Regions from separate parts of the Homo sapiens genome. Here region 2 is linked to region 1. Evidence: promoter capture Hi-C in human tissues and cell types (Jung and others, 2019). All regions are on one chromosome and are shown on one strand. Each heading gives the region's core, a stretch centred on a gene start or on the middle of the fragment in contact. The rest is flanking DNA. Distances are from core to core; before and after follow the strand shown. Region 1 holds the start of VSIG2 (V-set and immunoglobulin domain containing 2). Region 2 has its middle 26 kb from the start of NRGN.

Region 1 (4,379 bases), core at 1,160-3,659:
TGTGACGCTGGAAGTGAGCACAGGTCAGTGAGGGGTAAGTGTGGTTAAGAAGAGTGGTCAATGGTGGGGGAGGGGTTGCAAGTGGGGAGGAGGCCTGTCTGCTGAGGCCTGTCTCTGTAGCAGGGCACGGAGCTTCCCCTGATCAAATGTTTGTACAAATGGTTGGTCAGTGACTGGTCATTTCCTGCTCAACAGCCACCCCTCTTCTTGACAGGGAAAAAGAGGGAATGTGTATGGTGGCAGATGGGGTGGGGAGAGTGGGATTGGAGAGGGGTGAGAACCCCTCAGCTGGGTGTCCTCCTCTGACACGACGCCTTTTCCAGGGCCTGGAGCTGCAGTGGTTGCTGGAGCTGTTGTGGGTACCCTGGTTGGACTGGGGTTGCTGGCTGGGCTGGTCCTCTTGTACCACCGCCGGGGCAAGGCCCTGGAGGAGCCAGCCAATGATATCAAGTAAGTGTCCCTGGTGTCTGCTGCAGCGGGGGCTCTCCCAGCTCTCCTCACAGAGGCTGGGAATTCAGGCAGCTCTCATCTATTGGGATGGGGTCAGTGGCTGAAACATCATTCCTATGGGCAGGTTTTAAGGGAGAGGGAAAGGAGTACTGAAGTGTGCAGGCAGAGGTGGTATATAAGACCAAGCAGGTAGAAACTCTCTCCTCCTTCCCCCACCCACTTCTGACCTCTTGTTATTTCTTTGATGACTAGGGAGGATGCCATTGCTCCCCGGACCCTGCCCTGGCCCAAGAGCTCAGACACAATCTCCAAGAATGGGACCCTTTCCTCTGTCACCTCCGCACGAGCCCTCCGGCCACCCCATGGCCCTCCCAGGCCTGGTGCATTGACCCCCACGCCCAGTCTCTCCAGCCAGGCCCTGCCCTCACCAAGACTGCCCACGACAGATGGGGCCCACCCTCAACCAATATCCCCCATCCCTGGTGGGGTTTCTTCCTCTGGCTTGAGCCGCATGGGTGCTGTGCCTGTGATGGTGCCTGCCCAGAGTCAAGCTGGCTCTCTGGTATGATGACCCCACCACTCATTGGCTAAAGGATTTGGGGTCTCTCCTTCCTATAAGGGTCACCTCTAGCACAGAGGCCTGAGTCATGGGAAAGAGTCACACTCCTGACCCTTAGTACTCTGCCCCCACCTCTCTTTACTGTGGGAAAACCATCTCAGTAAGACCTAAGTGTCCAGGAGACAGAAGGAGAAGAGGAAGTGGATCTGGAATTGGGAGGAGCCTCCACCCACCCCTGACTCCTCCTTATGAAGCCAGCTGCTGAAATTAGCTACTCACCAAGAGTGAGGGGCAGAGACTTCCAGTCACTGAGTCTCCCAGGCCCCCTTGATCTGTACCCCACCCCTATCTAACACCACCCTTGGCTCCCACTCCAGCTCCCTGTATTGATATAACCTGTCAGGCTGGCTTGGTTAGGTTTTACTGGGGCAGAGGATAGGGAATCTCTTATTAAAACTAACATGAAATATGTGTTGTTTTCATTTGCAAATTTAAATAAAGATACATAATGTTTGTATGAGATAAGAAACAAGTTGCCTTTTCAAACTAAGAATTCTTGAAATTGAGCTTCAGGAGGATGCAAAGTGGACCCCTTCCCAAGCTGTGTACCCAGGAGGGCTTCCCCCCACAGGCTTAGAGCAGCTCTTCTAGTGTTTAGAAGGGTCCTTGTTTGTCACGTGGAGAAGGGGAGGAGACTCTAAGCTACTCTGAACAGCAGAGGGATGGAGTTGATACGCTTTCTGCTGGAGCTTGAGTGCTCCCGGCTAGGGGGTACGTGTACCTCATCTGCTTCCTCTTCAGGGACAGGGGAGAGGAAGCTCACGTGGGCTCCTCTCCCACACCACGGAATCCTTAACAAAACACTCCTTGCCCATCTGGAAGAGATCTCTGTTGTTACTGAGGGAGAGCTGGGCATAGTATGAGGTGCAGGTCTGTGTCCAAGTTCTGCCATGTTCTTTCCTACCAAGGGTGAGGTCTCCTTTAGGTCTCAGTTTCTCTGCCCCTAAAATGGAGTGGCTCTGGAAATGGAGAGATGCTCATTTCTACAGAGACTCCTACCTCAGTAAGTGGTGAAATGAAAAGCGCTGTGGACAGGAAGGGTCTGCGGCCTGGGGCTCACACTCACAGTGAGGCTCCGAGGTGGGGACTCCCCTTGCCAGCTCTGGGGTATCAGGACGCCTTCCAAAGTCAGCTTTCCTTCCGTCTCTGCAGAAGGCCCACCCCAAGCCCAGCGCTTTTCCCAAGGCCGGACAGCTTCAGACCTTGGGGAGAAGAGGAAGGAAGGAGGAAGAAGGGACAGAGGGATTGCAGAATCGGGGCTGGAGGAGAGGAGGGAGGAGCACTTTTTTTTTTTTTTAACCTGCGGCGCCGGCCTCTCCCCTGTTTGCTCTGAGATACCAGTCTCGCTCCTGCCCAGCCCGGGCGGCTGCCCTTGGGTGCTCCCTTCCCTGCCCGACACCCAGACCGACCTTGACCGCCCACCTGGCAGGAGCAGGACAGGACGGCCGGACGCGGCCATGGCCGAGCTCCCGGGGCCCTTTCTCTGCGGGGCCCTGCTAGGCTTCCTGTGCCTGAGTGGTGAGGAGGGGCCGGGCGGGACCACGGCGAGGGCTGGGGGGCATAGGCCTGGCTTCCCCGGCTCCTCGGACCCACTCTGTCCCCGCCAGGCCAGATGAGGCTGCCGTGGGCGCCAGGGGCCCTAAGGCGCCTGAGGTGAGGCCGGAGAGGGGGTGTCCAAGGCCCGGAGGGCGTAGGAGAGAGACCCCCAAGCCGGCGAGCGAGTTGGGCCTCTCCGCGGCACAGGCCTGAACCACCCCACCGCAGGGCTAGTGTTTTCCTTTCTCTGCTAAACACACACACCCTCTTACCTGGCCCGGTTCCGGCTCTTTTACCCACAAAGACCCGGCCCCTCCCGGAAACCTCAGGTTTTGGGAAGGGAGGGGTTGGATTGAGGGGAGAGGGTTGTGCTCTGGGGAGGGAGCCCCCAGCTTCCAATATAGATGCCCGGGGGTGGGCCCGACCCTCCAGATCACTGGAATTTGGGTTCCCACCTCCCTCTGGTCCCCGGCCCCAGGGCTGGCCGTGGAGGTGAAGGTACCCACAGAGCCGCTGAGCACGCCCCTGGGGAAGACAGCCGAGCTGACCTGCACCTACAGCACGTCGGTGGGAGACAGCTTCGCCCTGGAGTGGAGCTTTGTGCAGCCTGGGAAACCCATCTCTGAGTCCCATCCAGTGAGCTGAGAGCGACTGCATGAAGCTGGGTTGGCCTGGAGGGACAGGAGCCCAGGATGAGGGCATGGGGTCGGGAGGGGGAGTTTGGGGATCAGTATGCTTGGATGAAAAGGTAAGTGGGCTCTCCCTAGATCTTTTCAGAGCTGCAGTCTGCCTGACCGTGTATCTTCCTTTCCTCTTCCATAGCTCCTATTTCCAACTCCCCTGCCTTAGTGTATCCATTGACACTAAGGTGTTGTGACTGATACCAAGATAATATGCTGCCTCTTCTGCCTCTCTCTTTGAGAGAGAGAGAGAGAGACCAATGGATCAGGTTCATTTAGCACCTGAAAGGGGGTGGTGTTTGGGGACAGAGAGACCTTTGGAGTTCCAGCTTAAGGGTATCAGCCTCCCTGGCTGATGTAAGTCAGAGGCCTCTTATACCCACTTTGATGAGGAAGGACTGTAGAGTTGATGCCAGGCAGAAACAGGCACATATGTGTGTCTTCTGCCTCTCCCCAGATCCTGTACTTCACCAATGGCCATCTGTATCCAACTGGTTCTAAGTCAAAGCGGGTCAGCCTGCTTCAGAACCCCCCCACAGTGGGGGTGGCCACACTGAAACTGACTGACGTCCACCCCTCAGATACTGGAACCTACCTCTGCCAAGTCAACAACCCACCAGATTTCTACACCAATGGGTTGGGGCTAATCAACCTTACTGTGCTGGGTAAGGCAGACTGGGGATCCACGAGCCACATACTCTTTCACATACTTGGGGCGTTTGCACTGGTCTTGCTAAATCTCTGGTTTCTGACTTTTAGCCCAAGCACACAACTGCACTGGGGGCCCCAAGTGAAAATACTCCCTTTCCAAGTCTTCTAATTCAGATGGTCATACTCCAACTCCACCCTCCACCGAGAGCATCTCCTCCATCAGAGCCTAATAACAGAGTGTGTGAGAGAAAGTCCTTCCCATACATGGGGATCTGAGCCTGCTCCCAGCAGCTCCATCATGGGGGAGGCTCTCATCGGTAGTTGGATTCTGTCCCTCCCAAGGTCAATGGCAGAGAAGGGGAGTGGCCACCAAAGGAACAAGGGCCCCTATTACTGAGCACCAACTTCGTGCTCAGAGCTTCTGTCTCACCCCAAACTAGAGC
Region 2 (4,379 bases), core at 474-2,973, 38 kb after region 1:
TACATTCTTCTTGGCCTAACAACCTTACAATCCACTTAAATAAATGTTCTCCAGACTCCTGCTGATAAAAGTTAATGAAGTTCTGCAACTCTTTTGGCATAAAGTCTATCTCCTTGAGGCCTAGCCTCTATACTTTGCAATCTGGACTATGCTGGCATTTTACTTTCTTTGTGGATCTGGAAGCAATGAGGGGCAGTGGAGGTGGGTCTTGAGGAAAGTCACATTTTTTTTTTGTAAGGGAACTGCCTGAGGAATAGTCATTGAAAGGATTTTATTCAATGGAGTTGGGGTTGCAGGGTATAAACCTCCTCAGAGAGGTTTAGGGGGATTTTAGGATTCAGATTCTTAGTCTCATCCATGTCTACACAAATGTCTATATCGCATCTCTCAGGGTCCCATCTCTCTCCCTTAGTACCCTTTGCATATTGTAAGAAATTGAAACGGAAGGATTTGAGTATTTAATTGGTTTTGCATCTCTGCAGCTATTAACATCATTTTTCAGATGTGGTCTTCTTCCATATCAGTCCATTGACTAGAGGAGAAGGACTCCATTAGAGCTACTGTAGAGATGTTCTGATTTCCCATAATGTTTTCAGTTGGGTATGCAAGGCTTTCAATATGTTTTTTTCCGTGTTTACTCTTTAGAGCCATCAGAGACAGTCAGTTGACTCCACAGTCTTTATAATCACTATTGTCACCATGGTGACTAAGTACCACAGTCACTTTATTTCTATTGCCATCCTCCTTGAATTTATTCCTTGCCACCAACAATGGTAAGTCTAGTCACTGTTATGTCACTGAATGCCATGGATTACCAGTATCCACTGTTCTCCTGGTAAGGAGGTTACTTAAGAAGTTTTGTGCTTCTTAAGTATAAAAGCAATAGAATTTCAGAATCCTACTGTGGGGTTCTGTTTTCTTGGGCCCTTCCTGGTACCTATTCCTATATTTCTCTGGAACCCAGAAGGCAACATGAGGCAACCACTAAGCCACACTCAAATGTGGCTAAGCTCTAGGTGCTCAGGTACACGAGAATAGGGGTAATTGACGTGGATTTAATAAAGGTAATATTTATAAAGATGAAGGCAGGGTGGCAGATTAAAAAATTGACTTCAATTCTTCATTCTTATCTGTATCTGTATCCTTTCATGCCCTCTTGATGGGTGGACCGTGCTTCCCTGCCTTGTGTCGTTGGGCTTGGCCGTGTGATTTGTTTTAGCCAATGACATGCGAGTGGGAATGACAGCATGGCAGTTCTAAGCTTAGGCTTTCATAGGCATCATGTATTTTTGTTTGTTCTTGTGTGCCTCTGCTGCCACAAGCAACATGTTTGCTGATCTAATGAAGATGAGATACATGGGGAACAGAGTTGCTCCAACCACCTCATAGATCTACAGTGGGAAGCATAGCTGCTCTAGCTAGCAAGGCATGAGGTAAAGATGCTCAACTGAGCCCAGCGTAACTCAGCCCCACTCTAGCTGACCTGCAGATGTATGAGAAAAAAATAGTCTTTTAAAAGACACTGGACTTTGGCGTAGTGGTTATGCAGCATTAATGTTGCAATAGATAGCTGATGCTCTGGAGTAAATAAAAAACATTAAGAGATGGGACAGAACCTCAGAGATGTTGATGGTAGGCCGAAGGATCAAGGGGAGGAAGCAGTTACTAGAACCTGGAGAGTAGCTAGAGGAGAGGACTGTATGATAAGAGCTGTGGCCTTTGGTTGAGGGATGCAGGCAATCCATGAGAACCAGGGAGGGAGGCAAGGGGAATGAATAGCATCACCTTGCTCTCCTCCCACCCTCTGATCTCCTCCTGGTGCCTGCCATTGTCCAACCTAGAAGGCTAAGGAGCTCATTGATGCAGTTTATTTAAAAAATCCTCCTAGTGCATAAACACAATGAAGAATAGGTCTGGAAGGGAAAATAGAAAATATCTAAGCCATTGTGTGTCTGAAAATATCTTTGTTTTACCCTCATACTTGTAGGACAGTTTGGTGACACAGAATTCTAGGTTTGAAATAATTTCCTTGAGAAGTTTGAAGACAATCCCACTACTGTGTATGTATCTAAAGGAAATAAAATCAATATGTTGAAGAGCTATCTGCACTCCCATGTTTATTGCAGCATTACTCACAATAACCAAGATATGGAATCAATCTAAGTGTTCATCAACAGATGAATGGATAAAGAAAATGTGGGGCTGGGCGCTGTGGCTCACACCTGTAATCCCAGCACTTTGAGAGGCTGAGGCAGGCAGATCACGAGGTCAGGAAATCGAGACCATCCTGGCTAACATGGTGAAAGTCCATCTCTACTAAAAATACAAAAAAATTAGCCTGGCGTGGTGGCGGGCACCTGTAGTCCCAGCTACTCTGGAGGCTGAAGCAGGAGAATGGCATGAACCCAGGAGGCAGAGCTTGAACTGAGCTGAGATTGTGCCACTGCACTCCAGCCTGGGCAACAGGGTGAGACTCCATCTCGAAAAAAAAAAAAAAAGTGGTACATACACACAATGGAATACTACTGGGCGGTAAAAAAGAACGGAATCCTGTCATTCATATGGACATGGATGAACCCAGAGGACATTATGTTAAGTGAAATAAGCCAGGCACAGAAAAATGAACACTGAATGATTTCAGTCATATGTGGAATCTAAAACAGTCCATCTCACGGAAGTAGAAAGGAGAATGGTGATGACCAGAGGCTTGAGTAGTTGATGGGGGGATAGGGAGGTGTTGGTCAAAAGATATACCATCATGTGTCATGTAATGACATTTCAGTCAATGACAGATGGCATATACAATGGTGGTTCCATTAGATTATGATGGAGTTAGTTGAAGAAATTCCTGTAATCTAGTGAGGTCGTAGCAATCCTAACCTTGTAGCACACTTATTATTATTTTTTACAAATTTAGTGTAGCCTAAGTGTACAGTGTTTACAGTGTTGACAAAGTCTACAGTAGTGTATGGTAATGTCCTAGGCCTTCACATTCACTCACCAGTCACTCACTGACTCACCCAGAGCAACTTCCAGTCCTGCAAGCGCCATTCATGGTGAGTGCCCTATACGGGTGTATCATTTTTAATCTTTTATACTGTACTTTTACTGTACCTTTTCTATGTTTAGGTATGTTTAGATACACAAATACTAGCCATTGTGCCACAATTGCCTACAGTATTCAGTACAATAACATGCTGTACAGGTTTGTTACAGGAGCAATAGACTATACCATATAGCTTAGGTGTGTAGTGGGCTGTATCATCTAAGGTTTGTGTAAGTACACTCTATGATGTTTGCACAATGATAACATCGTCTAAAGGCAGAGTTCTCAGTATGTATCCCTGTCATTAAGAGATGCATAACTGCATAATTACAGTTAGGATAAATAAGTTCGAGAGATCTATTGTATAGCACAATGACTATAGTTAATGATGATATATTGTATGTTTGAAAAATGTGGCCAGGCTCAGTGGCTCACAACTGTAATCCCAGCACTTTGGGAGGCCGAGGCAAGTGGATCACTTAAGTCCAGGAGTTCAAGACCAGCCTTGGCAACATGGCAAAACCCCATCCCTACTAAAAATACAAAAAAAAGTTAGCCAGGCATGGTGGCGTGCACCTGTAATCCCAACTACTTGAGAGGCTGAGGTGGGAAGATCACTTAAGCCTGGGAGGCAGAGGTTGCAGTGAGCCAAGATCACACCACTGTACTCCAGCCTGGGTGACAGAGCAAGACTCCATCTCAAATACAAAATAAAAGAAAAAGAAAAAAAATGCAAAGAGAGCAAATCTAAGTGTTCTTATCACAAAAATGATAACCATGTGAGGCAATGCATTCGATTTAACTGTTCCACAATGGATATATACTTCAGAACATCATATGGTACATGACAAATGCATACAATTTTATCTGTCAGTTAAAAATGTCCAGAATAGGCAAATATAGAGAGATAGAAAGTACACAAGTGATTGCCAGGGCCTGAGGGGTTGTAGGGAGAGGATGGGGGCAGAGAGAAACAGGGAATGACTACTAATAATTATGGAGCTTTTTGGGGGGTTAAAAGAATGTTCTAAAATTGATTTTGGTGATGGTTGCAAACTGCAAACATACTAAAAACCATTGGATTGTACATTTTATTTTATTTTATTTTATTTTATTTTATTTTATTTTATTTTATTCTATTTTATTTGAGCAGAGTCTCGCTCTGTCGCCCAGGCTGGAGTGCAGTGGCGCAATCTCGGCTCACTGCAACCTCTGCCTCCCGGGTTCACGCCATTCTCCTGCCTCAGCCTCCCAAGTAGCTGGGACTGCAGGCGCCCGCCACCACGCCTGGCTAATTTTTTTGCATTTTTTTTAGTAGAGACGGGGTTTCACC

What was found. The method cuts DNA at HindIII sites, captures the fragments that hold promoters and counts their contacts. A contact is called where the count stands out against the background at its distance.
Region 2: a fragment that was not itself captured here is called in contact with the fragment with the promoter of VSIG2 in region 1 in 1 of the 25 tissues and cell types used here (neural progenitor cells).

Annotation. Positions count from the first base shown.
Region 1 is chr11:124,750,285-124,754,663 of GRCh38, reverse strand. VSIG2 (V-set and immunoglobulin domain containing 2) reads left to right here and starts at 2,409. Exons shown (of 7, transcript NM_014312.5): 1 at 2,409-2,587; 2 at 3,084-3,241; 3 at 3,743-3,950. The coding sequence starts at 2,527. ESAM (endothelial cell adhesion molecule) reads left to right here. Exons shown (of 7, transcript NM_138961.3): 5 at 1-23; 6 at 324-450; 7 at 703-1,538. The coding sequence ends at 1,018. RefSeq lists enhancers at 1-291, 2,650-3,211. The HindIII fragment of the contact is 14,367 bases long and covers 1-4,379 here.
Region 2 is chr11:124,711,470-124,715,848 of GRCh38, reverse strand. No RefSeq gene overlaps it. Among named protein-coding and RNA genes, the nearest start is that of NRGN, 26 kb to the left of the region's middle. The HindIII fragment of the contact is 4,012 bases long and covers 1-3,729 here.